Regions from separate parts of the Homo sapiens genome. Here regions 2, 3, 4, 5, 6 and 7 are each linked to region 1. The links are contacts of gene promoters, found by promoter capture Hi-C in blood cells and fetal thymus (Javierre and others, 2016). All regions are on one chromosome and are shown on one strand. The core of a region is centred on a gene start or on the middle of the fragment in contact, and the rest is flanking DNA. Distances in the headings are between cores, read along the strand shown.

Region 1 (4,347 bases), core at 1,038-3,537:
TCAATTGATGAACATTAAGTGTTCGGGTTTTAAATCTTCTAGCAATGCTGACAAAGCTGCAGTGAAAGTCTTGGCACATGCCTTTGTAAACAAATGTGGCTATCAACCAAGTGACATTATTGTTTTGGGGGATATGCACAATTTTATTAGATTTTTAAATTGCTGCTGGGCGCGGTGGCTCACGCCTGTTAATCTCAGCACTTTGCGAGGTCGAGGCAGGTGGATCACCTGAGGTCAGGAGTTCGAGACCAGCCTGGCCAACATGGTGAAACCCCGTCTCTACTAAAAATACAAAAAAATTAGCAGATCCTGGTGGCGCGCGCCTGTAATCCCAGCTACTAGGGAGGCTGAGGCAGGAGAATCGCTTGAACTCAGGAAGGCGGAGGTTGCAGTGAGCCGAGATCACGGCATTCCACTCCAGCCAGGGCGACAGAACGACGCTCCGTCTCAAAAAAAAAAAAAAAATTGCTTGGCAAAAAGATCTGTATCACTTAAAACTCCCTCCAAAAGTGAAGGGTAGCCATGTCCCTCATCGCGAGTCACCTGGGTTAAATTACTAATCTGTAAATGTTAAATTTCGCCAATCTTCTTAGTGTTTCAATTCGGAGAGTCATGTTGTGAAATGCCAATCTCTTAGTCCACCTTTTAAAAAACTTTGCAGGGGTTCTCCAAGGCCCTCAGAATAAAGTCCAGATTCCTTTGCAGAGCTAACAGGATACAGGAGACTCCCTGCTCCAGGAAACTTCTAGGGGCTTCTCTCCTGGGGCCTGTTCCCTGGTTTTGGGAGCGCTCGGGCGACCGCGAGCCAGAGCAGCGTCTCGCTCATCTCGGACCCAGGCCTGGGGCTCCACTGACGCCGACGGAGCCGGGCTGCTGCGGGAGTGGAGCCCTGGGGGACCAGAAGGGGCTTTCACTTCGCTCCTGGGCCTCCCGAGTTCCAGGCTCGGGCTAGCCCCGCGCAGGGAGGCGAGCGGGCCCGGCTCCCCAGAGGCCGAGGCCGGCGCCCGTGCTCCTTCAGCTCGGCCTCTCTCCCCCGACATAGGCGCTCCACATGCTTCATTTCCAAAATTCTCAGCAAAACTCCGCGGGAGACCCTGGTCACATGCCTGGAACGAGAACAAACCGGGGCGTGTCTGTGCCGGACGGCTGGGAACCAAAGCTATTTCCATAGAAATAGGGCCGGCCAGCCTTGAGTTGTAGCCCCGCCAGTGCCTGAAACGCCAGGAGGAGGGGACGAGTTGCCTTTTAAAGGCGTAGCGACGAGAATAAGCCCCCACCCGCGGCAATTCGAGGCTGAACAATAGTGGTGCAGCTCGGGACGTGGTGCGAGGGCCCACACTCCACTGGAGCACGCGCGGACCACCGTGCCTCAGCTGCCACAAAGGGAGCCTCGCCACACGCCCGCGGCCGCCTCGCAGCGCCCGCCAAGAAGCGCCTGGCGGAAGGGCGCACTCTCAGGCCTTCCACCGGCGACCTTCCGGCGGGAGCCTGCGGGCGGCGCAGGAACGACCCTCCTTCCTCTGCCCCGCAGCAGTGCTGAGTAATGGTGAGAGCAGCAAGGCCCTTGGCCGCCGCACGTAAGAAAAAAGTTGTAATAAAAAGAAAACAACCCGGGAAACTTTACTAGTTGGTTCGCCAGGTACAAACCTATGCGGAAAAGGCGGGGTACAGGCCTCGGAGGCCGGACCCAACCAGTCAGGGAAAGAAAGAGGGCAGAAGCCGCAGGCTGCACAGCCTCACAACCGCCCAGAGGGCACGGCGGCCCTGGGGCTCGGTCTCTTCCGAGCAGAGCAACCTCCGTGTCTATCAGCTCCTTCCGGCGTTGCGATTGGCCACAGGCTGTCTTGGCCTCTCGGACGCCCGCCTCCTAGTTGCTAGGGGTTTACTTCCCCAAAGTACACGGGCCCCACCTTGTGGCGCAACCGCTCCTGCATGGAAAACGGATCTCCGCCCAGGGGAAGACGTGTTAACGAATAAGAGCAGCCCCACACATTTATTGGCTACTTTGAGTATCAGTCAAAGAACTGCTCACTCGCCTTTCTATTGTACTTTTCGGTTATTGGTCTCTCTTAGTGCCGATCTGTTACTAGGGAAACGAGATCCTCACAGTCTCATAGGCAGGAGTCAAAGCCAATCAAGAGCCACGCCTTCATCCCCGAGTCAGTGCCCAATTACTGTTCGAAGAGCCCTGAGGACGCGGTCGGGATTGGTCATCCCGTCGCCCGACCTGGCCGCAACAAGTTAGGGTGAGTGGCAGTTATATAGACCGGCGGCGGAGCACGCGTGTGTGCGGACGCAGTTGCGTGAGGGGTTTGTACTATCCTCGGTGCTGTGGTGCAGAGCTAGTTCCTCTCCAGCTCAGCCGCGTAGGTACGCCGGGGTGTGGGCGGGGCAGGGAGGCCAGAGGACTAAGCCGAGCCGCAGCACTTGTGAGAGGGAGAAGTCTGAGTGGCGCTCGCGGCGGCCGCGCCAGTCGCGTCCCCCACCCCAACCCCCACCCCAACGGCCGCAGGCGCGCGCGGCGGACGGACGGGCGCGCGGCGGCTCCTCGCTCCCGCTCCCGTCCCGGCTGGGGCGCGTGGCCGTGTCCGCCGCGTGCGCGTGCTGCGTCCAACGGCCTCGCGGGGCAGGAGTAAGCCGCGGCCGCCGCCTGGGCCCCAGGGCGGTCTCTGGGGCCAGGGGTCCCGCGCCCAGCGTTTCCCGCCCGCCACCCTCTCCGCCACGCGCCCGCGGCACCTTTTCCTCCCCTGGCCAAGGGATCCAGTCGGTTCGGACCAGAAGGAGGCTTTCGTTTAGGGTGGGGGCAGCACTAAAGTCTGATTGGAGTCTTGCGGTCCGCGCGTCGCAGAAGCGCCTTCGGTTTTGCAGAGAGCAAAGAGGGAGCAGCGAGTGCACGGAGTGGTAGTAACAACCAATGTTCTTTCCACGCCCTCACTGTGTGTCCGGCACTGTGCGGAGCCACTTTTCTGCCTTTCATTTGATTCTTGCAGTGAGCTGGCGAGGTGGGTACGGCTATCCTCCTTCCTTAGCGGCCCAAGGCACGGGTTTGGAGAGCGGGGTCACAGGCACGCACGGGAAGGGCGGGGATTTGTTGACGCCGGGCCCTCTGACTCCGAGCTCCCCGCTTCCCAAGCCTGTTTTTAGTCTTTGCCCCCAGAGCACTTGTCCCTCGGGGCAGCATCAGCCTCAAAAGGCCACCTGCCGAGAAGGCTGCAGCGGCATTTGTACTTGGGCTAGTTCTGGGCTTCCAGGGAGACAAGGGTTGGAAGTGGGAATGTGACAAAGGAAAAGGGTTTGGGCTTCCTTTCTACGTGTACTTGTACAGGCCCTGGGTAGATGTGCCGCCACCGTAGCTTCTGGAAAAAAGTAGGGAAAACGATGAGTAAGTGCAAATGAACATGGACTGTGTTCCTCATCGGGTTTGAATCTCAGATTGCTGATGGGAAATTCCCGCCAGCGGGAAGTTAGGCTCCGGTTTTAGACGTTGAATTTTTTTTTCTCTACTTTTTTTTTAATTGGAGGAGACTTTTGCAGAAAGACCTTGAGAAGATTCACTTTATAGTTGAAGGGAATGAGGTGCAAAGCGACGAATTTAAGATCTCACTAGCATCTGTGGGTTAAAATACGGAATTGGAATAGAAAGGTTGGCGCCCAGTTACAGTATACTATTTGGACCTCTGTGGAGCGTGTCATGCTGGATGAATTACTGGTGTTGGAGATGTGTTGGAAAAAACAACTGTGACAGTCGAGATCTGTGGATGAAAGTTTGTGTACACTCCGTTTATTTAGCATTTACTCTGCTGGGTTCTTGTGTATATGCAGAAACAAGATGCTTTTCTTCAGGGACTGGAGCTTATATTTTTCTAGTAGTTACCATCTTTTAGATTATTTAAAAGCCAACATACTCCTTGGCTTAGTGAAATAAATCTTCTATGTTATAGAAACACTTCTATAAACATAAAGATTTCTATAATCGTGTTCTGGAAACCCTTTCTATAAACATGTTTCTATAACAGTATTATAATAATGTTCCAAGTAACATTTACTTGGAACTTTGCTGGTGTGGCGATTCCGGTTACTTGCCCTTACAGACTGGTTAACTATGGAATTAGCATTTTAACTTAGACTTAAAGTTGAGCAATTTAAGTTGTCAAATGGAAAAACACTAGAATGACCTACATTTAAACTGTTTAAGCTTGAGTCCAGCTAATTTTATTACTGCTTGAGGCAAAATAGAATGAAATTACCTTACACATTATTGAGGGAAAATTTCGTTAGTTTCTACTTAAAATATTAAAAAAATACAGTTCTTGGCCTCAGGCAAATGGTTATCACTTGGGCAGGAAC
Region 2 (4,347 bases), core at 1,094-3,593, 2.9 Mb before region 1:
AATTAGCCCCTGGTTGAGAGTCACTGGTAGAAACTGTAAAAATCTCAGCAGATACATACATTCTTTCTAATGCAAGCGCTTGATTGTGCAGAGCCTTAGAGAGGGATTTTCACAGTTCACCTAGGCAGTAACAGACCCTCACCAGCACTCTTTCCATTCCATCATGCTGCCTTCTAAACTTGTTTTCTAGCTGCCCAAATAGTGATCATGAAATGTTAAGAAGGCTTTAAGTCTGTACATGAATTGTTTGAGAGGGTTTATCAATGGAGGTGAGGCCTGTGGGCCATGACTCCTGTTTGTGAAGAGATTATAATACTGTCAAGAGGCACGTTAGGGGAAATCACAAAAGTAAACACATTTCTTCTCCCAGCCCCTTTCTATTTTTGCCTGTGTGTCTGAGCCAGAGCTTGGCCCAGGTTTGATGAAGTGGATCGTCCTCCTTGGCAACGCCAGGCTAGAGCAGATCAGCCTGCAGGGTTCATTGCCATTCCACTGGCTCATGAAGCTGACTCCACTCCCCTCTTCCTTTCTGTTGCAGCCAAGGTCCCCAACCAGAAAAGCATTGGCCTTCTCTGCTTCCTGTCAACTCAATGATGGGATGTTTGGGTGAGCACCGAGCTATCAGGAGAAGGTTAGGCGCCTGTGATTTTGGAACATGCCATGGCAAATTGGAGAATGTGTGTCATTCAGTGCTTTTACTTTTTTCCAAGGGTTTTCATACCTATTGAAAACCCTTATTACACATTATCACCTTCTCTTTCTACTGCTATTATCACATTCTCTTTCTACTGCTCTGGTCTCCACACTCAGAGATTTGGGCAGCTTCTTTGGCTAATATTCATGCTCCCTGTAGCCTCATAAGATCTCAGACATGGAAGAGCCCATAGAAAGTATTTAACATCTGATGAGACTGAAACGCTGTGAGGTGAAGGGCTTGCCCAAGGTAAGCAGCCAAGGATGTCAGAGTGGGACTCAAGCCAGGGAACCCAACTGCTATTCCAGGAACTGCTGCATTCTCTCCACCACATTAGCATTGCGTTCTTTCCTCACCCTCAACTGGGGCTATAACATAACACATTCATTTCAGCCAATATATTTTTCTTTTGTCCTTAACACAAAATTTAGAGCATAAACAAATAATCTGCAATAGAGACAAAAGAAATAATTGTTCATTTAACTCAACAAGCATCCACTAGGATATCTTCTGCATTTAGGGAAGCTGGGAGATTCCTTAGCTCTTTATAACCAGATGTCGGTGTTGTATATATACTCTTTTGCCTAAAGGAATGTCTAATGTAATTTCTGTTAAAATTCAGGTATTAATGTTAATTCAGATTCCCAGCTAAAAGGAGAGTTTAACCATATTCACGTTCCTTTAGGAATACTGTAGACACAAGAACCTTGATTAGTTTTAAGGGTCCTGATAAGCAAGAGCATTCTAGGCATATCTTAATCCTTTGCTTTCTACCTCTTTGGTGTGTTGCTTTGTTTCTTTTGAGGGGTTGGCTTTTGTCAGTGTCCCTTCGTCTCTCTGTTTGCTGACATGCTGGCCACCTAAGGTTTGTGTTGTATTCCTCATCGTGAGTTTTTTTTTTGCCTGGACAGCAAGTTCTCAGAGTCTGTCAAATAAGAAGAACTTTTTTCTAAGATGCAAGCTGAGAGGTGTGAACAGTGGCAGGACAGGGTGAGCCTCCCCACTGCAATAATTAATGGGATAAGGAATCTGGAGAAAGGGGAGCTTGAGAATAGGAACTGTCTTTACATGATTCTTAGAATGTTTCTTATGGTGAACCTATTGCCAAATGGAGCCTAAACCAGAATCAGTCAGAAAGTATTTATGGAGCACCTACTGTATGCAGCATGAGAAAAGTATAGGTTTCCATTTCTGCCTTTTGGATCATGATATTAAGGATACTAAGCAGATACCTTTTATGGAATCTTACTAAAAGTTAGTGACTATGTTAGACACCTGTTAGGCGTTATGTCCTCACAACTGTATGATGTAGGTAGCATAATTGTCCTCATCTAACAAATGAGGGAGCTGAGGCTCAGAAAGCTTCAGTAACTTTCCAAAGCCATACAACCAACTAGTTGCAGAGTCAGGACGAGAACCCAGGTCTCTGTGATTCCAGGATCCATGGAGCCTAGCACCCAGGCAAACCAGGAAGCAGCACGAGGTAGCTTAGAATCTGTGCCAGAACAAGTGTAAGAACTGGAAATGCAATACTTTGTTGAGAGAAGACGGAGACTGCTGTGGGTTGAGGCAGGGAGGAATGTTCCCTTCCAAGCATGTGACTGCAGGGTTTCTGGGGACTGACACAAAAAACCAATCACTGAAGTGCCTAGTTTGCTTCTCCAAGTCTTTGTTTTGTCTTCTCATCAGAGAATCAGACCAAAATGGAAAGAGGATATGAAACTCTAAAACGAACACAGCAGAGTAAAGCAGAAACACAGGCTGCCCTACGTCCTGGCACTCTTTCTCAGCTCCAAAGTTGGGAAGGCCTCCTAAATTGAGTGGGTAGCCAGACCTTATGGAAATTTGATAGGCCTGGGTAGCCATATAGGTATGTTTTCCATCTTGAGCTAGCATTCTAGATCAAAGGAGATGATTTTCTGACAGCAGAGAGCAAGGAAGCTTAATATGCTTTGAATGATACTTTCCATTGACAGTATAACCTCTACTAAATTCAGTCTGTGCTAATCCATACTTCACTGACAGTGCAAATATAATTTGAAGGAGGGATTTTTCTAAATGCGTAAGAGAACAAACTTCCTAAGCACTTTCAAGAACTTGAGAAATTCTGGTGTTTTGTGAATAATAGGAGGCAGGGTGAGGTGAAAAGAGCCCCCCTCCAACCTCCCACCCACCACCCCACTCTCTCTCTCTCTGAAGTTGGGTGAGGCGGTTTTCTTCAGCCGACTTCCGTTTACTCATCTGTAATTTGAGGCCAGTACAGGTGGTATCTAAGCTCTGCTCCCCTCTGAATTTATACAGTTGTTAATTTACAGGCTAGAGATAATCATTTATATTTCTAATTAGAGTTGATGACATTTGCCATATAAACAATGGTTGAATATTCTGAAGGTTGTCAGCCTGCAGAAGAGAATGCTGTGAAGTACTATTTGGTGCATGATAATTGCTTTTCAGTATGATCTAGGGGGGAAAAAAACAGATTTCTCGGTTCTGCATGAATACAAGAAGGCAAGCAGAACTTTACAGAAAGGCAGATTCTAGCTCGGGTATAGGAAGACTTTCCAAAGAGCGAAATAAATGATCTATCAGAATTGTGAACCTCCCGTTTTTGGAAGCATTCAAGAGAAGCCCAGATGAAGCTGAAGCTCTGTTCAGGATGAAGCACAAGGCCTGCACTGAGCAGGAGGCTGGGCTAGGCTCTTTCCAAATCTGTGATCCTATGTCCTTGAAAACAGCAGACCTGAATGTTCTTAAAGTGTATTCAAACTGTTCCCTAATTCCAGCTGGCCTTCTCCCCAATTCCTCTGGATTTCAGAGGTTTCACTGCATTCCTAAATGGGAAACCTCCGGGGGAAATCAGTATCTCAACAACCTTTGGCCATGGGGAGAAATCCAGAAATAGAGCAATAAGGTTAAGCAGTTTTCCAAACTATTAGACCTTTTCATCAGCTGCTCTTCCCATGCCTTTTGCAAATGACCTACTAACTCCCAGAGCGAGAATAATGAGAGCTGCAAAGTCCTCTCTGCAAAGACTATTACATCCTTCTCCACCCTCGGAATCATTGCACTTCCTCTGGTCTTTTTGTCACCCCTACAGGGCAGGAAGGAATAGAGGCAGGTCCCTGGCTAGCACTGGAACACTTCAAAGCTTCTAGCCCCAAAGCCTGGAGACCTGGGGTCTGTCATAGCCCAGCCACTAAGAGTCTGGGTAACCTCAGGCAGGCCACTTCCCTTCTCTAGACCCATTTCATCACCTCTAAAGAGAGATGCTTTGGTTTATATGGGTCCTCTGTTTCCTTCTTTCTCTAAAATTCTGTAAGATATTAGGAAGTCTTCAGCACCACACATCTGACTGCATTGCTTTTATTTTTAAAAGCATATTTTTTTCTTTTTAAAAGGATAATGGATAATTATTATAGGACATTTAAAAGTATATGAAAGTATAAAATGAGATAAATCCCACTTAATGTCACCACCTAAAGATAACCATCAATAAATTTGATGATGTATATGCTTCCAGTCTTTGTTCTAAGCCTAGCTATACAAATGTACATAAATATATTTGTAAATGAAAATAGAATTATATTATTTATACTGTTTTGGATCCACTGCTGATACTTTTACAAATGTTCCCTTGAACTTACTTTTATGTA
Region 3 (4,347 bases), core at 711-3,210, 2.7 Mb after region 1:
CTTAGGTCACACGTTGAGGTGAAATGCTTATGGCAATGAATTCATCCACTTAGAAACACTGCCTACCTTCCGTGTAGGTTGTTAGAAGCTGCTTTACTTGAGCAGCTTATAATAATAATTTCCAGTCCTTAAAAGAATCTTCCAGTCCTTTTAGATCACTGGATGCCTTCCCATCTGAATGATTTTGCTGCTGCAACTGGGACTCCTTTTATTTACCCATTGACTGTACTGGAAAACCTGTGTTGAGCTATGCTGATCATTTCACACACACTGTCTAGAAGAAGGGCAGCCTGAGCCTAGCATTAGTGTTCCCAAAATGTAATACTTCTGAGGTAGTAAGGTTTCCAGGTGGAATCACTCAAAATTTGTTTTAAGGTGGTGTTGTGGAGTCATTATTTCTGAAAGGGATTCTATTTCTTTCTCACAGGCTTGGGCAGGAATTCAATTCCAGGTAACTGGTATGTTACAAGAATTTTTAGCTATTGCAGAAAGTGAAGGAAAAAAAAAAACTAGAGCCTTTGCTACCACCCTCCTGCCCCAACCCCACTCCCAAAGGCCACTGAGCTCTGAAATTTCTGAAAACCAGTATGTACTTGAAAATGGTTAAGGAGAAAATGATTATTTATCTTGTAAGAGAGTCTAGCAGAGAACCTTTTTAAATAACAACACCAGAAATTCAATTCAGGCTGTTTAACTCATTTTATATAGACTTTGGCAGTGTTCTGTGATCTGTTAAAATACTAATATACCTCCAGTTGACATATTTCTGCTTTTTTTTTCCTGGAGAAAAGTGGAAGTTGAGAATAGTATAAAGGAAAATGCTGGAGTAGGAAAAGACATGTACTGGGGGGGCAGAAGGCCTGGGTGACCTTGGCCAGGTCATTTCCTCACTCTGGATGGCTTCATTTTACCCATTTAGAAAACGGATTGGGGTCAATGGGATTGCACTAGTGATTGCTAAGTTCTCTTACAGCTAGGATTCCGTTATTCTATTGTCCTGATCTGAAATCTCCCAGCCAAAGCTTTAGGAAGCCACCTATTCTCCCTGTTCTCCTATGAAGTTTGTTACTGTGAACTTGAGGAGCAGTTGATCTGAGTGGACTCGCCAGTCTAGCTAACATGGAGGGCTAGCTTCCTCTCAGGGATGCAGAGTGTGCTTTGTTGTGCTTTCTTCCTGGAGAAAAGCATGTCCAGTAGTATATACATCAGCTAGGTGGGATTCTTTGGGACAGTGGCATGTGCTGTGTTTGAAAGTCCTTTGACAGAGTTGAATCTGACAAAGCTATCCCAGTTTGTAACCATGTTAAGTGGTGGCTTTCATTAGCCTTAAGCCACTTTTAGATATAGGAGACTTCCTATATTGGTACATCAACATTTTTCGAGTACCTCCTGTCTGCAAGACACCATCACAGTATAAACTTAAAAGTACTTATGACTCACTAATCCAGCCACATGAAAGTGATCATTCATCTGAATAAATAAATAAACAGTTTTCATTATTTTCTCCATGAAAAGGTCTGAATTAATTGATGCGGATTTCCTGCCAGCTTACTTTTATCTTTAAGGATTTAAGGAATAAACTCAAATTCAGAAGTCTCTGCAGAACATTTGTGCAACAGCTGTTTCAGTATCAACAACCCCAAGTCATTTGCTGGGCATTCAGTTTCTGTAAAGTTTTTCAGTGGTTCCTCCAGCCAGCCTTGGAGGATTCTTCATGTCTTAGCTGTTGCTGCCACCTTCACTTACCAGTGTGCCTCCAGCCTGTATTAGAAAATCTGTAGTATCCACCTTCTTGTATGTGGTTCTACCTTGTAAGAACTTCCACATCTTTTTCCACTTTTCTTTGTGGATCAGATGTGAGATAATGCAAGAATTATAAATTGACACATAGAAACAAAGTTTTTCAAAGAGTTATTATCCTACAATAGTAGCTATTGTAATTGTAAAAATAGAGTGTCCCAAATACCGTTGCAACAGTCCCTTGTGTCCTGCTTTCCTCCTCCCCAGGACAGTACATTCCAGTCGACTATAAGTTTATGACTCCTACAGGTCTTCTAAAAATGTCACATCACTTCCTGCTTCCTTGAGGGACTCTGTCTTGTCGGAAGGAAAGTCTAAGCTGTTCTCATGCCCACCCCCCTGATGCCTCACTTTTTCATTATGCTCCTACATGGGCAGCCATCATCACCCAACTGACACTGTACCCTGGGCCTCCTCACTCTTTCTGTCATCCTCCATTGGAAACTCTAAAGTCTTGGCACTCCTACCCATCTGGAATGCTTCCTGTCTGCCTAAAGTCCTCCCTTTTAGTCAGGGCCCTTCACCCTGAGCATCTCTGTTGCAGGGATCTCTTCCTTTGCTGAATCTGTACCATTTACTGTCTTCACCATTCACTGGAAGTTTGGTGTATGATACGCTGCCAAGTGTGATGTTAGCATTCTCTTTGTGTTCTGCAACTCAGTAGTGAGCTTCTGGGAATGATGGCCTACATCTTGTCTTCCATCTATCTCTCCAATGCCCTGCAATGGAAGGAAGCCCCGCAATTCGACAGATACCTATTGCTGTCTCCAAGGAATTGGCCAACTCTGACTTTGATTTTTGTCTCCATCAGGTAAGGCACCTATATATCTGTGATTTTCACAAAAATTTCATCCAGAGTGTCCGAAATAAAAGGAAGAGGAAGACAAGTGACGATGGCGGAGATTCTCCCGAGCACGACACTGACATTCCTGAGGTAAAGGTCAAAGAAACCAGTTGCGGAAGCTGGAAGAATGGATTCTAATCTGATTCTCACCTCTGGCCTGGTCTGCTTTTTGTGTTAAGAAGTAATTTTAGTCCTTTTGTTTTGCTGTGGATTATTTGAAAAGTGAATTATAGTAATATGGAATCTGAGAGCTAAAAGCTTGGACACCCACTGGTCAGACTGCCCCATCATTTTACAGACAGGCACAGAGAGCCGAGGTCATGTATATAGTTTGGAGGCTCTAGTCTAGGGCCCTTTCCAGTAGACCACACTGCTTTTCTGCAAGACGCCCCTGACGAATGCGTAAATACAACCACAGTGTCACTTTTTTTTAAACCTTGTTTATGCCTTTAGAGAGTGTATAATGGTTTGGGAGAAGTCTTTTCCCCAAAAAATGAAGGTGTAAGTCATCAGTTCATACCAGCTCTGATTTTCTCTCACTGATTTCTTGACATCTAGTCCAGGCTGTTCCCAAGGATCCATTTCAAAGTTGACTAAACTGGACCCGGTTTTCTCAACTCTAGCACTGTTGACATTTGGGGTCAGCTAATTTTTGTTGTGGGGACTGTCCTCTGCATTGTAGGATATTTAACAGCATGCCTCAGCAGCATCCCCTCGTGAGATTCTACCCATCACCACCCTGAGTCATGACAATCAAAACGTGTCTCCAGACATTGCCACACCTCCTTTACAAGACAAAATCGTCCTGTGTTGAGAACCACTGCGCTAGACCATGAGACCTAGGCTTCTCAAACTGGAAGGCTGCCTTCCCTTCAGGTGCCCGTGTCTATTAAGTGAGGCTTCAGGAAGGAATATTGGATTTTCTTTCTACTAAATTGTTTTCACTCAAGACTCAGCAAGAGAAGAACCGTTTATAGTGTACATTGAATATTTGACACATGAATATTTCATAAGGCAACCGCCTGTTAGCACTCAGAGTGAAAATGACTGTGTAGGAATAGAAAGAGTAGGCGGGCCTTTGTCTGCAGATGTGGAGGAAACCGTTGAAAATCTGGCCCTTTCCCTCTGCCCCTCCCTGTGTCCCCTTTTCCAATGTTGGTTTACAGAATCTTGCTTTTGCCTTTAACGTTATTGTTATTTTACAAAGAAATGGACGTATTCGATTTCTAAGTGGTTTTCACCAAAAAAAAAAAAAAAAAGGTTTTGAGGAATGTTTTGAAAAAGAATGAAGGACTTTGGCCCCTCATATTGATCATTCATTTTGTTTTTAAGTGCTCTCCACCTGCCTGAAGCAAGAACAGCTCTTTTAGAGGCAGGTAAAGGCAGCCCAACTTTATGGGCCTTCAATTTTTCATGACTATGCAGCTTTCCTCTCTTCCTTTGTTAGAAACAAAAAGGGGGGGTCCCTTCCCCTCTGTTATCCAGTCATCTGCAAAGACCCCAGCCCTAACCTGCTGGATTGCACATTCACTACAGTAACTTTTGAACTTTCTCTGGAGGGAGGTTAAGGATTCTAATACCAGAAGGCTGGGCCTAGCAAAGAGCTATTTGAGGATAACAGCCCTCCTTTGTGCTCCTCTATCCGGTCGCTGCCTCGTTCTGGCCTATCATCCTCCAGGATGTCTCTGGTTTTTGCCTTTGCT
Region 4 (4,347 bases), core at 842-3,341, 2.4 Mb before region 1:
ATGTAACTGTCATGGGGTCAGTTCAGTTCAGGGCACCATCTAGTCTGAGTTAGGTGCAGGACAATAAAGGAGGCTGTCTATTACAAACATCAGTAATTGAGAGGGAAGAAATCTGGTCTCTGCTCTTTCCTAGTCATTACAGAACAAGAACAATGAGGAAGAGAATTAAGCTATAATTCTAAGAAGCAGAACTACAAAACATGCTACATGGACTCAGACCACAGCCACATCTCTCTCAAAGCTTCAAGTATTTGGGAGGTTCCAACAGCTTTTAGGTTTTATTTATTTTCACATTCCATTGCAATCAGAATCAGACTAAATTGCATTCAGCAAAAAAGTTTTTTGAAGCCGGGGGCGGTGGCTCATGCCTGTAATCCCAGCACTTTGGAAGGCTGAGGAAGGCAGATCACCTGAGGTCAGGAGTTCAAGCCCAGCCTAACCAACATGGTGAAACCCTGTCTCTACTAAAAATACAAAAATTAGCCGGGTGTAGTGGGCGCCTGTAATCCCAGCTACTGAGGAGGCTGAGGCAGGAGAATCACTTGAACCTGGGAGGCAGAGGTTGCAGTGAGCCGAGATCGTGCCACTGCACTCCAGCCTGGGTGACAGAGTGAGACTCCATCTCAAAAAAAATAATTTTGAACACCTACATTAGGGCACTGCTCAATGGGAATGAATAGACAATATCTCTGCCTTAAAAGAGCTTATATTTTAGTGAGAGGAAATGAGAAAATACACACTATTTAAAAAAACAATTCAGTCGATAAGAAGGGCATTAGAGAAAAAGACTGGGAGGAGTGATGGGCAATGGTTCAGGCTGCGATGTTTTAAACCGCTCACGTGATCTAGCCCTTCCTAACCACCAGTCCTGTTGCCCTCCCGCCTCAGTATATTTCAGTCCCTTACATGCAATACTCTTCTCTCTTTATTAGGCTTCTGCAGATGTTTCCCTCTGCCTGAACCCTTTCTTCAGCTCAGCTCAAATACCCCCTTCCTCTGGGAAAACTTTCCACAAGGCTAGATTTCTATTCTAGGCTTCCGCGACACCTGCCCCTCACCTTCAAACACCGCTCATATTCTGACTTTACATCCCGCTTGTATCTGTTTATCGCTCATAATATCAAGTAAGCTCCATGCGGGCACAGCTATGATCTGCTTTCTTTGCTGCCGACCCTGCGCCCAGCACGGAGACTGTAGTTACTACTAGGACCTCGCCTACCCGCGGAACACACTGAGAGCCGGAAGTGTTGCCTTAGCTCCGGACGACCGGATGGGGAACGGCGCGGCCCATCGGGCAACCGGAAGCATAGCGTTCCTGTCCGGAAGTCCTGAGAGGGAAACGCCCGCAAAGGCTGGTTTTTAAGCGGGAGCATCTCTTCACTCGCAGCAAGTGCGCGTGCGCTGCCTCTCAGCCCAAATTGGAAACATGGCCGTACGGTCGCTGTGGGCGGGCCGGCTGCGGGTGCAGCGCCTACTGGCCTGGAGTGCCGCGTGGGAGAGCAAGTAAGCATTGCAGGCGGGGAGTCGGGAGCGTGAGGACTCTGAGGGGCTAGCGAGCCAGCCGGGGTGGTTGTGGGCTGGAAGGCGAGAGCTATCTGAGCGTAGGCCAGGGGACCAAGCTTCTCGGCCTCTACGACCGTGCACTCACGGCCCCATTTTACAGACGGGGAAACTGAGGCCATCAGCCGTGCCTCTTTCTTAGGCCGAGGAAGGTAAGGAGATCCGAGGTCATGCATGGCCTGGAAGGTGAGAAGTCTCTTAAGCCCCCAAGGGAGGGATGTACCACTCTCCCGGCCTCTTCTCCCAGCCTGTGGTACCTGTGGGTAAATTTGGGTTCTCTCCCCTCACTCCGTGTGACCTAAGGCCAGTCCTTTCTCCGTTATCCGGGCACTGTTGTACCTGTCAGTAAAAGGAGGCCGCTGAACTTGTTTCTCCAAACGGCCATTGCATCAGCCTTCGGAAGACAAGTTCCATCGGCAGCTTTTATTGGTCGCTTACGAGGCCGACTGCAGAATTATGGGTGGTTCTTTTTATTATTACCCATTTAGTAGTTAAGGAAAGTGAGGTTTAGAAAAGTTGAGTAACTTCCAAACTTAAATATTTGGGAAGTGGTGGAACCCGGGCTGGAAACCAGTCAGGGCGTTGGAATCGGCGCTCTTATTTAATGAGCGATGTTAATTAATTTTCTCAGAGACTGTTGCCCCTACACTGTTTCTTCCTGGGATAGAGAATAAAAATAGTTGAGTACGAGGTAGGGTTGGACCTCTGAATAGTAAAGTAAGCTACGGGAGAATCTGGTAAATGTGCTTAACTACATATGTCACCCTTTTTACCTTAACACACCTGACCCAACATCCTACCCTAGCACCTAAGTGAGAGGTTGCATTCAGGGTTTCGGGACTTGGTTTTGCTTACCGTTCTCAAGTCTTTTTGGCAGCTTGTTGGTGATGTAAGGAAATGACCAGAAGAAAAATGGTTCCTTCTGGTAAGCTGTCTCCCTACTCCAGTTCTGAAGCAGTAGGAATTGAGATTGGCCACAACTCCCCAACCCTATTTCTTGGTCTAAGCTTTGGCCATTTTCCCTTTGAACTGGCCCTGAGAATTTTTTTTTTTTTTTTTTTTTTTTTTTTTTTTTTTTTTTTGAGACGGAGTCTCACTCTGTCGCCCAGGCTGGAGTGCAGTGGCACAATCTCGGCTCACTGCAAGCTCCGCCTCCCGGGTTCACGCCATTCTCCTGCCTCAGCCTCCCGAGTAGCTGGGACTACAGGCGCCCGCCACTACGCCCAGCTAATTTTTTGTATTTTTAGTAGAGACGGGGTTTCACCGTGGTCTCGATCTCCTGACCTCGTGATCCGCACGCCTCGGCCTCCCAAAGTGCTGGGATTACAGGCGTGAGCCACCGCGCCCGGCCCCTGAGAATATTTTGACCTGCTTTTTCAAGTGGATAAATGTGGTTTTTTTAGGGAGAAGATGTTTCACCGTGTGTAATTAGCCCCAGATCTACGGTGACCATATTTTCTGACCCCAAAATGTGGAACTGTCTATAAAATCACACACCGGATTATAATAATTGAATTTAAGATCAGCTTGGAAAGTAGGAGAGATAAAAGTCCTCTTGCTTACACCTTTAAACTAGCTATTTGCTCTGCCCAGGATGCTCTTCCCTTTTCTAAAGCTGACTCCTTTACCCTCTTTAAGCCTTTGCTCAGCTGTCTCCGTGAGGACCACTCTACAGTATATGCCAGTCCATAAAAATTGTTTTAAAGAACTCATGTACTCACAGATTGATTTTCAAGATAATTTTACTTACAGTCAAATTACGAAGATCCAGGAGTTGCAGTGGAAACTTCCTTGAACTGGGCCAGGTCAGGACTGCCACAGCCCAAGATTTGCTGTAAACTAGCCCCTAGTCTAAATTTATTTCTGTGTAAACTGAACTAAATGTCAAAACAGTTTAGCTGTACAAAATTCTAGATTACATAACTAGTTGAATGCAAAGATCTATTTTCACCTGTGTCTATTCACCGGCAGTAACATATAGTATTGTATAAGTATTTCATTGACTTGATCTTATTTATAGGTGGGAATTTCTTTCTCAGCACAGGTCTCCTAAAAGCCTTACAGGTTGTGGTGAGGAAGGCTTAGAATTCTAAGCCTTAAGGTCCCTTTACTGGACTTAATTTCCCTCATCTGTAAGTTAGAAGGTTGAACCAGAACTATATGACTTTTTGAATGCCCACTTCTGACAATGCTCCTCTGGTTCTGGGTACTAGCATTTGGTTTCCTTATGCTGACTTTTGTATACCCAGTTCTGGCTATTTCTGCTGCCTGGTTCTTAGTGTCCTGACCCAGCGGAATACCAACTATGTGATCTTGAGCAGGCCATTATGCCTTAAGCCTCTCAGCATCAGTTTTCTCATCTGTAAAATAGGGATAATGATAGGACTTATCTCACATATTGTTGTGAGAGGAAAAGATGACTCAAGTAAAACAGTGTCTGGTACATGGTAAGGACTTCGTAAGTGTTCATTTGTTACTATAACTGAAAACACTTTCTCCAGAGATTCCATCTGGGAAGATCTCTGGTCTCTAAACTTGGTTGTAATTTTGGCTTATGATGGCATTTCTTCATTATGTGCCACCTCCTTCCTGTTTTAGGGGATGGCCGCTTCCATTCAGCACTGCCACCCAGAGAACTGCTGGTGAGGACTGCCGTTCTGAGGACCCTCCTGATGAGCTTGGGCCCCCTCTTGCTGAACGAGCCTTAAGGGTAAAAGCTGTTAAACTGGAGAAAGAAGTCCAAGATTTAACAGTGAGTCAATTTTATATTTCTTCTTCATATCCTCT
Region 5 (4,347 bases), core at 985-3,484, 2.4 Mb before region 1:
ATACTAATAAAAGCATGGGTTGCAAACTCAGTCGCTTAACAAGGGCTGAACTGGGATGCGAGTCAGTGAATCAGCAGGTGGAAGAGAGCAGAACAAGGCCCCCTCTGAAGGAGGCAGCCAGCCCTCCACCGCAGCCATCTGCAGCCAGCCGTGTACAATGCCCACCTCATGTGGCTAGATCTACTCACTTTTCAGAAGAAGCTGGAAATCCAGAGTCGTGTGTGAAATCTTTTCAGTTTTTCAACATTTGCAACCAATTCATCTTGTAAGCCAAATGAAACACTTCTGCAGGGCAGATGCAGCCTGTGGACCACTCATTTGCAAACTTTGTTGTCCTCATTTTTCCATCTAGAATAAACACCTTTCTTCACCACTCCTCCTATCCCTGGGCTCCAGCCCCCTCCCCATCACCTTTGGTCCCAGATGTGGAGGGCAAGTGGTCTGTTCCCTCCCTGTTCACCAAGCTGTCACTCCACCTTTCCCCAAAGTCCCTCCTGAAGGTGCTCCCTGCTTCCAGCCTAAGGCGCAGGGGCTGCTCCCCGGACCCCATCACTGTCTGCCTCCCTTCAGTGTCACTCAAGTGTGGCCTGTGCCCTCCTGCCCTGGTTCCTGGCACTTCTCCACTCCCTTCCCATTCTATAACTCTGCTGTTTATAGCACTTCTTCCTTATATTCTCCAGATGTCACCCAAAGCTTATTTCCTTACCTCTCTTTCTGATATTTTTCTCCCTTATCAATTATATCCAGACCAATAATGTTGACTTCTACGTTTTATGGGAAATGACTTCTCCCTCTCAGCCCTAGTTTCCTCTTCACTTCCAGACCCACATTTCAACTTTCTGGACACCTCCATCTCGTGTCCTATTGATAACCAAACTCAACATGTTTACAAAAGAAGCCCTAGAATGGGCAACATTTCAAAGGCCAGCCAGTCAGGAAATCCATCGATGGTTCCAATCCATGCTAGTGAGATTGCATGAGTGATAGAGCGACAGGACATGAGCCTGGGGGTGAGTGGGAGCCCTGTCAGATGAAGCGAGAGGAGAGGACAGGCTGGACTGGCAGAGAAGGTGACAGTATCAGCATGAAGTTGCAGTGTGTCATCAGGTCCTAGAAGCTGTGGCAGAACCGACACTGTTGGAGAAGGAGATGTGTCAGCAGGGGTGGGCCGTAGCCCCAGCTGGGTGAAGAAAGGGTTATGAACTATGACCTCAGGCAGGGAGTGGCTCAGAGCAGTGATACAGTTGTTACTCAGCACAGCCGTGATGTGAAGCCAGGCCTAGAAGGATTCCATACCTTCACACTCCCTTTAGGTGGGACAGGCCCGCCACAGTCAGAGAACAGGTGCCAGGGAACATGACCAGCCTCTTCTGCCACCACTCCATGTAGAGGAAGTGATGGGTTCCTGGTGGGCCTCCCAGGCACTATAACCCAGGGGCAGGTGGTCAGGCAAAAAGCCTTCCTGCACAAGGACTCCAGCTCTATGTGTCTTCTAGGATCTATAAGTACCAGGCCCACGGCTATGCCTTCTCGGGTGTGGAGGAGCTGCTCTACTCACTGGGGGAGTCCACCTTTGTTAACATGACCCAGCACTCTGTGGCTGAGTCCCTGCTGCAGGTGGGCGTCACGCAGCGCTTTATTGATGATGTCGTTTCTGCTGTCCTGCGGGCCAGCTATGGCCAGTCAGCAGCGATGCCCGCCTTTGCAGGTAAGCGTCCAACCCTTGGCCTGCCCACCTGCCCCTCCTCCACCCAAGGTGCTCAGAATGGGCTGGGGGTCCCCATAATAACCTCACTTTTATCCAGCTCATTGCAGTCACATAGGCACTCTGCTGCCCCATCCTGCCTGATTCTGGGACTGGCCATGAGTTGGCAGGAGATAGTATCACCCCACTTCACAGACAGTGAAAGCAAGGCTCAGATCACAGGTCCAGTGTGTTTCTACCACTCCCAATTGCTTCATAATCCCTTGCATGTGTGTAAATGTTAGAGCTGAGATAATGCTCTGCTCTCTACACTTTGGTTTCAAGAACTGCCCTGTTGAGGCCTTTGAGCCACTGTGAGAGCACCTCCTCTTCCCAGCTCTTCACGGGAGTGGCTGGGCCTGTGTGTAGCTCACTGTCTGCTAGCACAGACCACAGGAGTGGAGAATGTAGGCTTCACAAGAGCAGGAATCCTTGTCTATTGTTCCCTGATACATTGCAAACACAGAACAGTGCCTAAGTCATACTAGGCACTGGGTATATTTTTGTTAAATAAATGAATGCAAAGGTTTACAATAACAAGCACCTCCCTCGTACCCTCGATACTGTTCATCTGGCTCTGCACATGCTGGCTCCTTCGCAGCCTTCAGGCCCTGCCTCAGTGTCCCCTCAGTGTTCCTTGCTCACTCTTTCAGTATCTTGTGTGTCTCCTTCATAGCATTTTTGTGTAGAGATATATAGAATTCACATACCATATAATTCGCCCATTTAAATTGCACAATTCAGTGGTTTTTAGCACATTCGGAGTTCTAAAACCATCACCACAATCAATTTTAGGACATTTTTATCACCCCAGAAAGAAACCCCCTTGCCCTTTAGCCCTCACCTCCCCAACACCCCCCGGCCTCCCAGCCCTGGGCAGCTACAGATCTGCTTTCTGTTTCTGTGGATTTGCCTAGTCTGGGCATTCTGCATAAATAGACCTCACAATATGTGGTCTCTGGGAGCTGGCTCTTTCGTTGAGCACAGTGTCTTCCCCCCATAGCATTGTGCACTTTGTTGTACTTACTTGTATGTTTGCCATCTCCCCATGCCCATGGTTGGGAGAGTTTTGCTCTGGCAGGGAGGCCCAGTCGAATAGTACTGGACTCCCCAGCCCTCCTGCCCCACGGCCCTGACAACCTATCAGCACCCACTTCCCGCTTTGCCCAGGAGCCATGTCACTAGCCGGGGCCCAAGGCAGCCTGTGGTCTGTGGAAGGAGGCAATAAGCTGGTTTGTTCCGGTTTGCTGAAGCTCACCAAGGCCAATGTGATCCATGCCACAGTGACCTCTGTGACCCTGCACAGCACAGGTGAGTAGACAGGGCGGGAGTGGGCAGGCATGCCATTCCCAGCCAGTGGACAGACACTTCTGCCTCCTTTGTACCTCAGCCCTGGTCTGTGATCCCCCTGGGGAGTATTTCCGAAAAAGCATTGAGAAGCCCCAACCCTGCCAGGTGACACTAGAGGGTGCTGTTTCCCCAATTCAGATGTCAGCCAGAAAGCTGAGACTTCCATCGACCCAGCCTTTTTCTGTTGACCGATGAGGACTTTGAATGACATCCTTGCCCACGCTCCCCCAACTGGCCAGCGGCGGAAGCAGAGCAGAAACTGAGTCTCCTGACTCCATGCCCCTTGCTTCTTCTGCAGCCGCATCAGCATGGAGAGGCCAGGACCCACCATTTAGACAGCCCTGCTGCACCCTGAGCACCAGGGTCTCGTTGTACCTCAATGCTGGACCCCAGTAGGGAGTTCAGTGGGTAGAAGCCAAGGGAAAGTTGACTTTTGTGCTCTTTTCTTTCCAGAGGGGAAAGCCCTGTACCAGGTGGCGTATGAGAATGAGGTAGGCAACAGCTCTGACTTCTATGACATCGTGGTCATCGCCACCCCCCTGCACCTGGACAACAGCAGCAGCAACTTAACCTTTGCAGGCTTCCACCCGCCCATTGATGACGTGCAGGGCTCTTTCCAGCCCACCGTCGTCTCCTTGGTCCACGGCTACCTCAACTCGTCCTACTTCGGTTTCCCAGACCCTAAGCTTTTCCCCTTTGCCAACATCCTTACCACAGATTTCCCCAGCTTCTTCTGCACTCTGGACAACATCTGCCCTGTCAACATCTCTGCCAGCTTCCGGCGAAAGCAGCCCCAGGAGGCAGCTGTTTGGCGAGTCCAGTCCCCCAAGCCCCTCTTTCGGACCCAGCTAAAGACCCTGTTCCGTTCCTATTACTCAGTGCAGACAGCTGAGTGGCAGGCCCATCCCCTCTATGGCTCCCGCCCCACGCTCCCGAGGTTTGCACTCCATGACCAGCTCTTCTACCTCAATGCCCTGGAGTGGGCGGCCAGCTCCGTGGAGGTGATGGCCGTGGCTGCCAAGAATGTGGCCTTGCTGGCTTACAACCGCTGGTACCAGGACCTAGACAAGATTGATCAAAAAGATTTGATGCACAAGGTCAAGACTGAACTGTGAGGGCTCTAGGGAGAGCCTGGGAACTTTCATCCCCCACTGAAGATGGATCATCCCACAGCAGCCCAGGACTGAATAAGCCATGCTCGCCCACCAGGCTTCTTTCTGACCCCTCATGTATCAAGCATCTCCAGGTGACCT
Region 6 (4,347 bases), core at 1,018-3,517, 2.3 Mb after region 1:
TAATTATAGCAGCAGTTCTCAAACTTTTTGATCTTAGAATTTCTTTATACTTTTAAAATGTATTGAGAACTTCAAAGGGTTTTTGTTTATAATAGCTATCAATATTTACTATTTTAGAAAACAACTTTCAACAAAGGTTATTCATTTTAAAATAAACTCATTATATGTTAACATAGATAGCATTTCTGTAAAGGATATTTTCCAAAATGAAAAATTATTGAGAATGGCATTGTTTTACATTGTTACAAATCTCTTTAATGTCTGGCTGAATAAAAGACAGCTAGATTTTCGTAACTTCTACCTTCATTCTCTTACAATATCAATCATCATGTAACTTTTAGAAAATTGTGCCATATTGTGTGAGAATGTGAGTGAAAAAGGGATATGTCCTAATATTATGTAAATTGTTTTGAAACAGTGTCAGGGACACCCAGGAGTTCCTGCACCACACTTTTGAGAATTACACTGAATTACGGTGATTGTCATGCCAGTAAAAGAAATATGAGTTTGATTTGTAAATCAATAAACCTATATGCACATTAAAAATGCAGATGCCCAGGCATCCCCTAGAGATCCCAATTCAATAAGTCTGTGGGGTCAAGAAATCTGCATCTTTAACAAGCACCACAAATTAATTTGATATAAATGGTCTGAAAATTACAGAGTGAGAAAACCAGTCAAATGATTCTCTAGAGTGTTCTGCCTACTAAAACTCAAGATAGGTGTCTTTCTTATCTTCACCTCTCTCCATCAATAGTTTCCAGAGCCTGAAGCTCTGGAAAGTTAATAAGTTTGTAGCAGACACCTTTCACACTACCAAGTCGATGAGTGTCTGAACTCAAAATTTTGAGCACTTGCCACAGGCAGTGGCCCTGTGCTAAGGACAGAAGGTTTTTAGACTCTATCATTCATAAGCTTACAGTCTTTTGAACGGATAACTAACTGCTAAGAGGAAAACTGATAAGTCTTATAATGGCGTACTCTTAATGTGCTAGGGGACTGACAGAGCAAAAAAAAAAAAAACTCATCTGACAAGAGGGTGGGCATGAGAGGGTTTCCTGAATAAGATGAAATTAGAGTTGAATATTATAGAGAGGGTACAGTTTCCCCCAGAAAGATATTGACGGGAAGGGGCAGAAAGATTTTTAAGCAAAAGGAACAACTAGTAAGGTGAAAAGTTATTTAGAGAGAATAAAGTAAAACAAGCGTAGTTTAGGCTTTCAGCCATGGCAGGAAAGCTGGGTAGATTATAGGATTTAAGCAAAGAAACGAATGATAATGATAATCAGCCTCTAGGTGAGGAAACTAAAACCACTGGAGCACATCATAGCTAATTTGTGATAGAGGTAAAACTAAAGACCAGACTTAATGTTTAAATCCATTCATTCCTCCTGCAAGCAATTATCGTACATAGAGGCACCTCTGGGCTTCTCATGACTTTCTGTTCTGCTGCCTGAATCTATTCTTGGAGAATTACAATGCCAAATTGGAATTTTAAGCTTATCTCATGGGCAGTGAGAAATCACCAGTAGATTGTAAAATTACCCTGAATTGCTCAGATTTGTGTTTAGGACCAATTCTGAGTGTCACAGTGTTTGGATACATCATAGAGGTAAAAGGAGTTAAGGAGATCCATTCTGAAATTAAGGGGATAGTGTGGTATACCCAGGTGAGATAAAAGGATATGAGTTAGGACAGAGACAACAGGACTTAATTGAAAAATGTGTAGGAGGTGGAATAATAACAATAGCATATATTTATAATTTACCCACATTAGTTCATCTTATCCTCAAAACTACCCTATGATGCAGTTACTGTTAATATTATTTTATTTAATAAATGTGAAAACTAAGGCCTTGCAAGCCTATGGCTTCACCCAGGGGTAGGATCAGGCACCTTAACTCTAGAGCCCATTCTCCTAACCACTGAGCCATGATTGTCTTACAATTTTGATACTGCAAAACTGGAAGAATTGTCTGGCTATTATCTAAGCTGTTCATAAGCTGAACAAGTAGATCTGAGGGTAAGAGGAGTTCTGTTTTAACTAGACTGAGTTTCAAATAGAGATGTTTCAGACTATAGAGGGGGAAAAATGGCCTGGGAAGATCATAAATCTAAGCCTGTTTCATTGATGTTTTTGTCATTTGCATCCAGTAGCTATTCAGCAAATATACCTATGGCAAAAAGGATATAAGTTATGGGTATAACTGAAATAATCCTGGGTTTAAAGCAAAGCTCTGATAAATACAGACGATGTTTCTCCAGGTGCCAGAAGATATGTTGAAGTTTGAGCTCAGACTGACCAAATGCTAGTTATGGGGTATGTGATAGCTCCAAGGTAGTAATATAAAGGCTATTTTAATTAGAAACTTTTGAGTAAATGGCCCTCAGGATAGTGATTTCTGTTTGAATGTCACTAACCTTTTTTAGTTACAGATCCCTATAATAATGCTTGAGTCTAGGCAGAACAACTTTGTGTTTATTCTTTGCAAAGGGTAGGGTAGTGCTAACAACCTGCTCTTCATTTGCTTTTTCTCCCCTTTGCCGATTCAGAATGCTGCTTTGTCAATTTGTGTGCCTGCTGTAGGAACTGGTCCGTTTTCCAAGTGTGACAGTGCAGGCAGAGAAGGGTGGATGAGCTGTAAATGCAGCCTAGAACACATTTGATTATAGAGAATGAAGCACTAATATCCCAATATAATTGGAGTTTAAAAAAAAAAAATACCACCTGGGCATCAATGTGTTTCCCTGCTTTGCATTTTCCCAGAACTATTTCTGCAAACATCAGTTTCCTCAGCCAACTTAATATTGAGTCACCAGAACGGAAATCAGCCATATTACTTCCTTATTTGTGTTGAAAATTGGAACAGAATGGAAATATTTCTTCCCTCAGAAGTTGGCAGGAACGGCAACAAGACAATCTGTTAGGGGTGACAGCTATAGGCTCTTCTCTTTTTTAAAAATAATATAGTCAATATTCAACATGGTTTTCTGGGGTAAAATCATCCACATTTCTGATTCTTTATGATCCTAGCAAAGCTTACATTCTGTATACCTGAAAGATGAAAAAGGAGTTGGATTAAACTTGAGTCTTACACTTATCTATTACATTTTTATTTATTAATGCTGAAGAAAGGTAATATAGGCTGGGCGCGGTGGCTCACGCCTGTAATCCCAGCACTTTGGGAGGCCGAGGCAGCCAGATCACCTGAGGTTGGGAGTTCAAGATCAGCCTGTCCAACATGGAGAAACCCCGTCTCTACTAAAAATACAAAAAATTAGCCAGGCGTGGTGGTGCATGCCTGTAATCCCAGTTACTTGCGAGGCTGAGGTGGGAGAATCGCTTGAACCTGGGGGGTGGAGGTTGCAGTGAGCCGAGATCTCACCATTGCGCTCCAGCCTGGGCAACAAGAGCGAAACTCCGTCACACACACACACACACACAAAAAGGAAAGGTAATAAAAAATTTTATCAAGTAACTTCATCCACAAACATAGTATAGCCCTTTTTAACTGATAAGAAGAAGGTGACACTTTGGTTTTCCTTTTTGAAATCTGTTCTTGGGTTTCAAATGTCAGCTGCTACATTAAAAACAGCAGGCATAATATATATATATATATTTTTTTTTCCAAATACAAATGCACGTACTCTTGTGTCTCCCATGGCATCTAATATACCTGCCTTAATGACCTCAGCCCACTTAACTGATTTGGTGAACAATTCTGCATCTGAGGCTGTATATGTGAGGAAAAATTAAAGGATTGGAAATGAAAGTAAAATAACTATAGTATAAAGGATCATATGTTCAAAGCATGCAGGCCTAATATTATAGGAAGTCCCAAACATATAAGTGAATTGCATTCCTAGAACTGACACATTTGTCTTTTCTCTGTTGCATTCACAATATAATTACATTTCAGTCACATTGTCTTAGATACAGTTGGCTGTTTCTGGGCTGTCTTTCAAGCTGGTTTGTAAATTCCTGAGGGTCTAGGACAGTGTCCTAATTCTCCTTAGCAACTCTTGCACCACCTACTGTACTTCATCTTCCACGATGGATCCTTGACCTAGCTGAGCTGTAGTTTTAAAGTCATTAGTCTAGAATGAGCAGAATGGTCATAGTCAATGCAGTTTGTGCTGCAAGTAGCAGAAACCCATTCAAGCTGACTTAGCAAAAAGGAGACTTAGTGTGAGGAAATAATAGTACCCTGATACCAAGGATGATTTGTTCTTCCCTCACTATTTTTTTCTGCTTTGTCACCTTCTTGGACACGTATCTTTGCCAGTGTTTTCTCTCACAGCTGCTGAACAGCCTGTTACCTGCAAATGGGTTATATCCGTTAGTCT
Region 7 (4,347 bases), core at 476-2,975, 2.3 Mb before region 1:
TATTTCAAGTTACTAAGTTAATGGAGTTAGCTGATTATCCTCATAGCACAATCTTTTAAAGCAACTGTCAACAGCAAATTCAACTTACTATGGCTTTTTAAAAGATTGAAAAGTTTACCAAAGCAATTCTTGTCGAAACTTTACTCTTTGTTCTTTCATGCAAAGAGCATTTGACTAACCTTATTACAGTGACGCCCAATACCCATTAGGAAGTTATCTGGTTTAATGTCTCTGTGTATAAAATTCTTTGTATGCACATATTCAATTCTACTGATCATCTGGAAAAAAAAGAAGGGAGAGATAATTGAGTTAAGTAGTAAATGAAAATCAACACATTTCTTAAGTATTTCAGTATCTCAATTATTTAGAGTTCACAAAGACAGCGCTAAAGAAAATGAAATGGAAAGGACAACTAAGTTCTCCATTTATTTCTAGGTTAATGGATATCTAAGCATATACCTGCTGTGTCCTTTGGCTTTACCTTCTAGTATTAATAATTAAAACCATGGCAGGGTCTAACCCCATAGGAAGACTTGGTGTTTGTGATTTTCAAATAATAAAAGGAATACCTGTATAATAGTTTCAGTTGCTACAATAAAGGAAATAAAATAAAAACTTTCCACACTCAATCCTAGGCCTTCTAAAGTAACCTGTTAAAATGGCCTTGTATTACCCAGACCTAATTCCATGTTATAAGATATACATATGCACACAAACAGATACACATATACTTGGGAGTGGAGGATGTTGACAGATTGGCAGATTAAGCTATAAGTAGTTGTTATAATTCTTATATAATCTCATTCCAAAAGTTAAATATTAAACATGCCATTCTTAAAAGCTTTCCTTAATTTCTTGGAAATTATGCAAAGTCAAACGCTATAGCTCAAATATCCTTTTTAATGGCTACAAATATTCTGTGGTAGAGATGTTATGTCTTCCCCAACTCACAGTATTCTCACATTGTTTTCCACTTTTTCCTACTATAAATAATGCCATTAATAGACATGTATCTTTACCCACTAGTGCTTTTATTTCTATGGGCTTCAAATCCCATATAATTATGGGGAGTTGCTGAGTTGAAGGGTGTATTTTTCATTTTGATAGATAATATCACACTGCCTTCCACAATAGGCTGTAACAATTTGGATTTACTCTTCTTTTTTTTTTTTTTTTTTTGAGACAGGGTCTCACTGTCACCTAGGCTGAAGTGCAGTGAAGCAACCATAACTCACTGCTGCCTCAACCTTCCAGGCTCCAGTGATCCTCACACTTCACCCTCTGGAGTAGCTGAAACTATAAGGTGCATGCCACTACACCTGGCTAATTTTTTTGTGTCAGCTAATTTTTAATTTTTGGTAGAGACGGGATATCGTTATGTTGCCCAGCTGCTCTTGAACTCCTGGGTTCAGGAGATCCTCCTGCCTCGACCTCCCAATGTGGTAGGATTACAGGTGTGAACCACCATGCCCGGCCTCGATTTAGAAGTAATCCTTCCATGAGGATTTTTTTTTTTTTTTGAGACAGAGTCTCACTCACTCTGCTGCCCAGGCTGGAGTGCAGTGGTGCAATTTTGGCTCACTGCAACCTCTGCCTCCTGGGTTCAAGCGATTCTCTTGCCTCAGCCTCCCGAGTAGTTGGGATTACAGGCACCCGCCACATGCCTGGGTACTTTTTTTTATTTTTAGTAGAGACAGGGTTTCACCATGTTGGTTTCCAGCTCCTGGCCTAAAATGATCCACCTGCCTCGGCCTCCCAAAGAGCTGGGATTACAGGCGTGAGCCACTGCGCCTGGCCCTTCTATGAGGATTTACTCTTCTATGTACTGTCAAGCTCCACTCTTTGCCTATTTTTCTTTCGGCCTATTGTCTTCTTGTTAGCTTTTAGGAGTTCTCGTCATAAAACAAACAATCTTTTATCTGTCATTATGTAAACAAATTTAAATTATTTTTTATTTTGACTGCTTATGGCATTTCTTGTATACAATAGAAGTTCTGTGTTTTTTTGTTTTTTTTGAGACAGAGTCTCACTTTGTCACCCTGGCTGGGGTGCAGTGACGAGATCACGGCTCACAGCAGCTTCAACTTCCGGGGCTCAAGTGATCCTCTCAGCTCAGCCCCCTGAGAAGCTGGAACTACGGACATGCGCGTTACCATGCCCAGCTAATTTTTGTATTTTTTGTGGAAAGGGGGGTATCGTTATGTTGCCCAGGCTGCTCTCGAACTCCTGAGCTCAAGTGATCCTCCTGCTTCTGCCTCCCAAAGTGCTGGGATTGCTGGCATGAGCCATCACACCCAGCCTCTATCTTTTCTATAAGACACTTACTTAGAAGTTGTATTTTTAAATAGATTACATATCCAAAGACTGCCAACATTATCTTTCTGTCCATATGTTCTTGCTCTACCCAGTAGTATCTGTTAGGATTCTATTTTTTATTTGTCCCCATTTTCCCCAGAGCTTTTATTATCATGAATACACAGATTCTAAATTGTACTCTTCTACCTTGACAAATGTCTTCTGAAGCCAAACTAGTAATCTCTGGCTTGAACAACTTACACCTGTTACCTGTCAACCACAGAGCAAGACTTAGGTGTCAACTACCTTAAATGAAAGCTTTCTTGTATCTCCCTTCCTCAGAATTATATTTTTTCACATTTGTTACCCGTGTACCCAACAGAGACTTCTACAACTCTACAACAAGGATGGAACATCTTATTTTTCCATCTTTCTTTATTAGACTCTAAGTTTCTTTCTAGAGGGAAGAGACTAATTCTTATTTTTTTGCCACCCCAACCCCCAGCACTAAGTACAGTGGTAGGCTCTCAATACATGTTCAATGTATGGATGCTTACGTGTTACTGAACAAACAAAAACATAAGCCATAACTCTTTTATTAGGATTCACTCATATATGTTAGTTAAAACATATTAAAGGCTTTTTTTTTTTTTGAGACAGAGTCTCGTTCTATCCCCCAGGCTGGAGTGCAGTGGTGCGATCTCGGCTCACTGCAATCTCCACCTCCTGGGTTCATGTGATTCTCATGCCTCAGCCTCCCGGGTAGCTGGGATTACAGGTGTCAGCCACCACGCCTGGCTAATTTTTGTACTTTTAGTAGAGATGGGTTTCACTATGTTGGCCAGGCTGGTCTCGAACTCCTGACCTCAGGTGATTTACCGGCCTTGGCCTCTCAAAAGTGCTGGGACTGTAGGCATGAGCCACCAAACCCAGCCCACATTAAAGGCTGTTAACATAAAAGAGATGGGGTCTTTGCTCTATTGCTCAGGCTGGAGTGCAGTGGCATTATTATAGCTCACTGTAGCCTGGAACTCCTGGGCTCAAGAGATCCTCGTGTCTTGGTCTCCCAAAGTGCTGGATTACAGGCGTGAGCCAGTGTGCCGCGCCACTTTTAACCTTTTAATGCTTGAGTTTGTTTTGTGCCACAAATATCACAATTTGCTCACATTTGCTTGAGCCACTGAGTACTTTTAAGGTTAAGAAGCTTGGGGAGTATCAGGTGCTGATTACAGAAAATGGGCACTACTTTCTAATCCTTGGAATTATAGACAAAGTTTTTTCATTGATCTATAATAGTTGTATATATTTATGGGGTATGTGTGATATTTTGTTACATGTATACAATGTGTAATTATCAAATCAGGGTAGTTGGGATATCCATTACTTCAAACATTTATATTTTGTGTTAGGAACATTACAATTCTACTCTTCTAGCTATTTTGAAATAAACGATAAGCTATTGTTAACTATAATTTCCCTACTATACTATGTAATACTAGAACTTATTCCTCCTAACTGTATTTTTGTGCCCATTAACCTACTTCTCTTCATCCCTCTGAATTTACAAACTTACTAAAATTCCACCTCAAATACCATGTCTGTTTATCTCATTTTACTTTATGACATTTACTTGAAAGAAGCTCACAGTGATGCTTTGGGTAATACATAAATAATAGTATTAAAAGGTAAGTGATAAAGTAAATAAAGGTAAGTGATAAAACAAATAACCTGTGTTCTCCTTTCCCTTTTCCTCATTTTATTTTCTTCTGTTATTTTCCCTCTTCCTTTTTATGTGATAGGCAAATCTGGACTAGAGAGCTGTCACAAACCCTCCATTATATTTTTAAATGTCATTCTCTTCATAGTATTTTTATAAGCACACTGAGTTTAACTTAAAGCATTTCCAGCATTTTCCTGCCCTTAAAGGTAACAAATACTGATCAAAACAAAAAATTATACATGTCTTGATATTTACCAATCATTACCTTAATGTATTATCTTTTCCCTTAAGGTTTGTTCCTTACTCATCTTTCTCATTTCTTAAGATCGAAA

The links. Contacts are between HindIII fragments. The CHiCAGO score rates a contact against its expected background, and 5 or more counts as called.
Region 2: a contact is called between a fragment that was not itself captured here and the fragment with the promoter of G3BP1 in region 1, in 1 of 17 cell types (monocytes). The highest score is 5.3, in monocytes.
Region 3: a contact is called between a fragment that was not itself captured here and the fragment with the promoter of G3BP1 in region 1, in 1 of 17 cell types (total CD8 T cells). The highest score is 5.1, in total CD8 T cells.
Region 4: a fragment that was not itself captured here is called in contact with the fragment with the promoter of G3BP1 in region 1 in 1 of 17 cell types (fetal thymus); the score reaches 5.7 in fetal thymus.
Region 5: a contact is called between a fragment that was not itself captured here and the fragment with the promoter of G3BP1 in region 1, in 1 of 17 cell types (fetal thymus). The highest score is 8.0, in fetal thymus.
Region 6: a fragment that was not itself captured here is called in contact with the fragment with the promoter of G3BP1 in region 1 in 5 of 17 cell types (erythroblasts, total CD8 T cells, naive CD8 T cells and 2 more); the score reaches 10.7 in erythroblasts.
Region 7: a contact is called between a fragment that was not itself captured here and the fragment with the promoter of G3BP1 in region 1, in 1 of 17 cell types (monocytes). The highest score is 6.1, in monocytes.

Annotation. Positions count from the first base shown.
Region 1 is chr5:151,769,667-151,774,013 of GRCh38, forward strand. It overlaps G3BP1 (G3BP stress granule assembly factor 1), which reads left to right and starts at 2,288. Exons shown (of 12, transcript NM_005754.3): 1 at 2,288-2,370. It overlaps LOC100652758 (a long non-coding RNA gene), which reads right to left and starts at 2,510. Exons shown (of 2, transcript NR_132345.1): 1 at 2,037-2,510; 2 at 127-1,106. RefSeq lists enhancers at 375-1,096, 1,475-1,704, 1,962-2,256 and silencers at 2,465-2,794, 2,845-2,914. The HindIII fragment of the contact is 14,997 bases long and covers 1-4,193 here.
Region 2 is chr5:148,829,450-148,833,796 of GRCh38, forward strand. No RefSeq gene overlaps it. Among named protein-coding and RNA genes, the nearest start is that of ADRB2, 5.0 kb to the left of the region's middle. The HindIII fragment of the contact is 579 bases long and covers 2,055-2,633 here.
Region 3 is chr5:154,448,480-154,452,826 of GRCh38, forward strand. SAP30L (SAP30 like) reads left to right here. Exons shown (of 4, transcript NM_024632.6): 2 at 2,612-2,734. Among named protein-coding and RNA genes, the nearest start is that of SAP30L, 4.7 kb to the left of the region's middle. The HindIII fragment of the contact is 1,880 bases long and covers 1,021-2,900 here.
Region 4 is chr5:149,344,114-149,348,460 of GRCh38, forward strand. It overlaps GRPEL2 (GrpE like 2, mitochondrial), which reads left to right and starts at 1,386. Exons shown (of 4, transcript NM_152407.4): 1 at 1,386-1,503; 2 at 4,159-4,312. The coding sequence starts at 1,427. GRPEL2-AS1 (GRPEL2 antisense RNA 1) reads right to left here. Exons shown (of 2, transcript NR_132366.1): 2 at 4,003-4,285. RefSeq lists enhancers at 1,069-1,694, 1,695-2,318, 2,843-3,343. The HindIII fragment of the contact is 948 bases long and covers 1,618-2,565 here.
Region 5 is chr5:149,364,446-149,368,792 of GRCh38, forward strand. It overlaps PCYOX1L (prenylcysteine oxidase 1 like), which reads left to right. Exons shown (of 6, transcript NM_024028.4): 4 at 1,497-1,708; 5 at 2,915-3,055; 6 at 3,548-4,347. The coding sequence ends at 4,209. Among named protein-coding and RNA genes, the nearest start is that of PCYOX1L, 8.6 kb to the left of the region's middle. RefSeq lists a silencer at 1,861-2,155 and enhancers at 2,409-3,273, 2,898-2,947, 3,038-3,117, 3,274-4,137. The HindIII fragment of the contact is 3,087 bases long and covers 692-3,778 here.
Region 6 is chr5:154,040,124-154,044,470 of GRCh38, forward strand. All of the region lies in intron 1 of MFAP3 (microfibril associated protein 3), which reads left to right. Among named protein-coding and RNA genes, the nearest start is that of MFAP3, 3.3 kb to the left of the region's middle. The HindIII fragment of the contact is 1,540 bases long and covers 1,498-3,037 here.
Region 7 is chr5:149,520,111-149,524,457 of GRCh38, forward strand. It overlaps CSNK1A1 (casein kinase 1 alpha 1), which reads right to left. Exons shown (of 10, transcript NM_001892.6): 4 at 180-278. Among named protein-coding and RNA genes, the nearest start is that of CSNK1A1, 29 kb to the right of the region's middle. RefSeq lists an enhancer at 3,362-3,531. The HindIII fragment of the contact is 1,772 bases long and covers 840-2,611 here.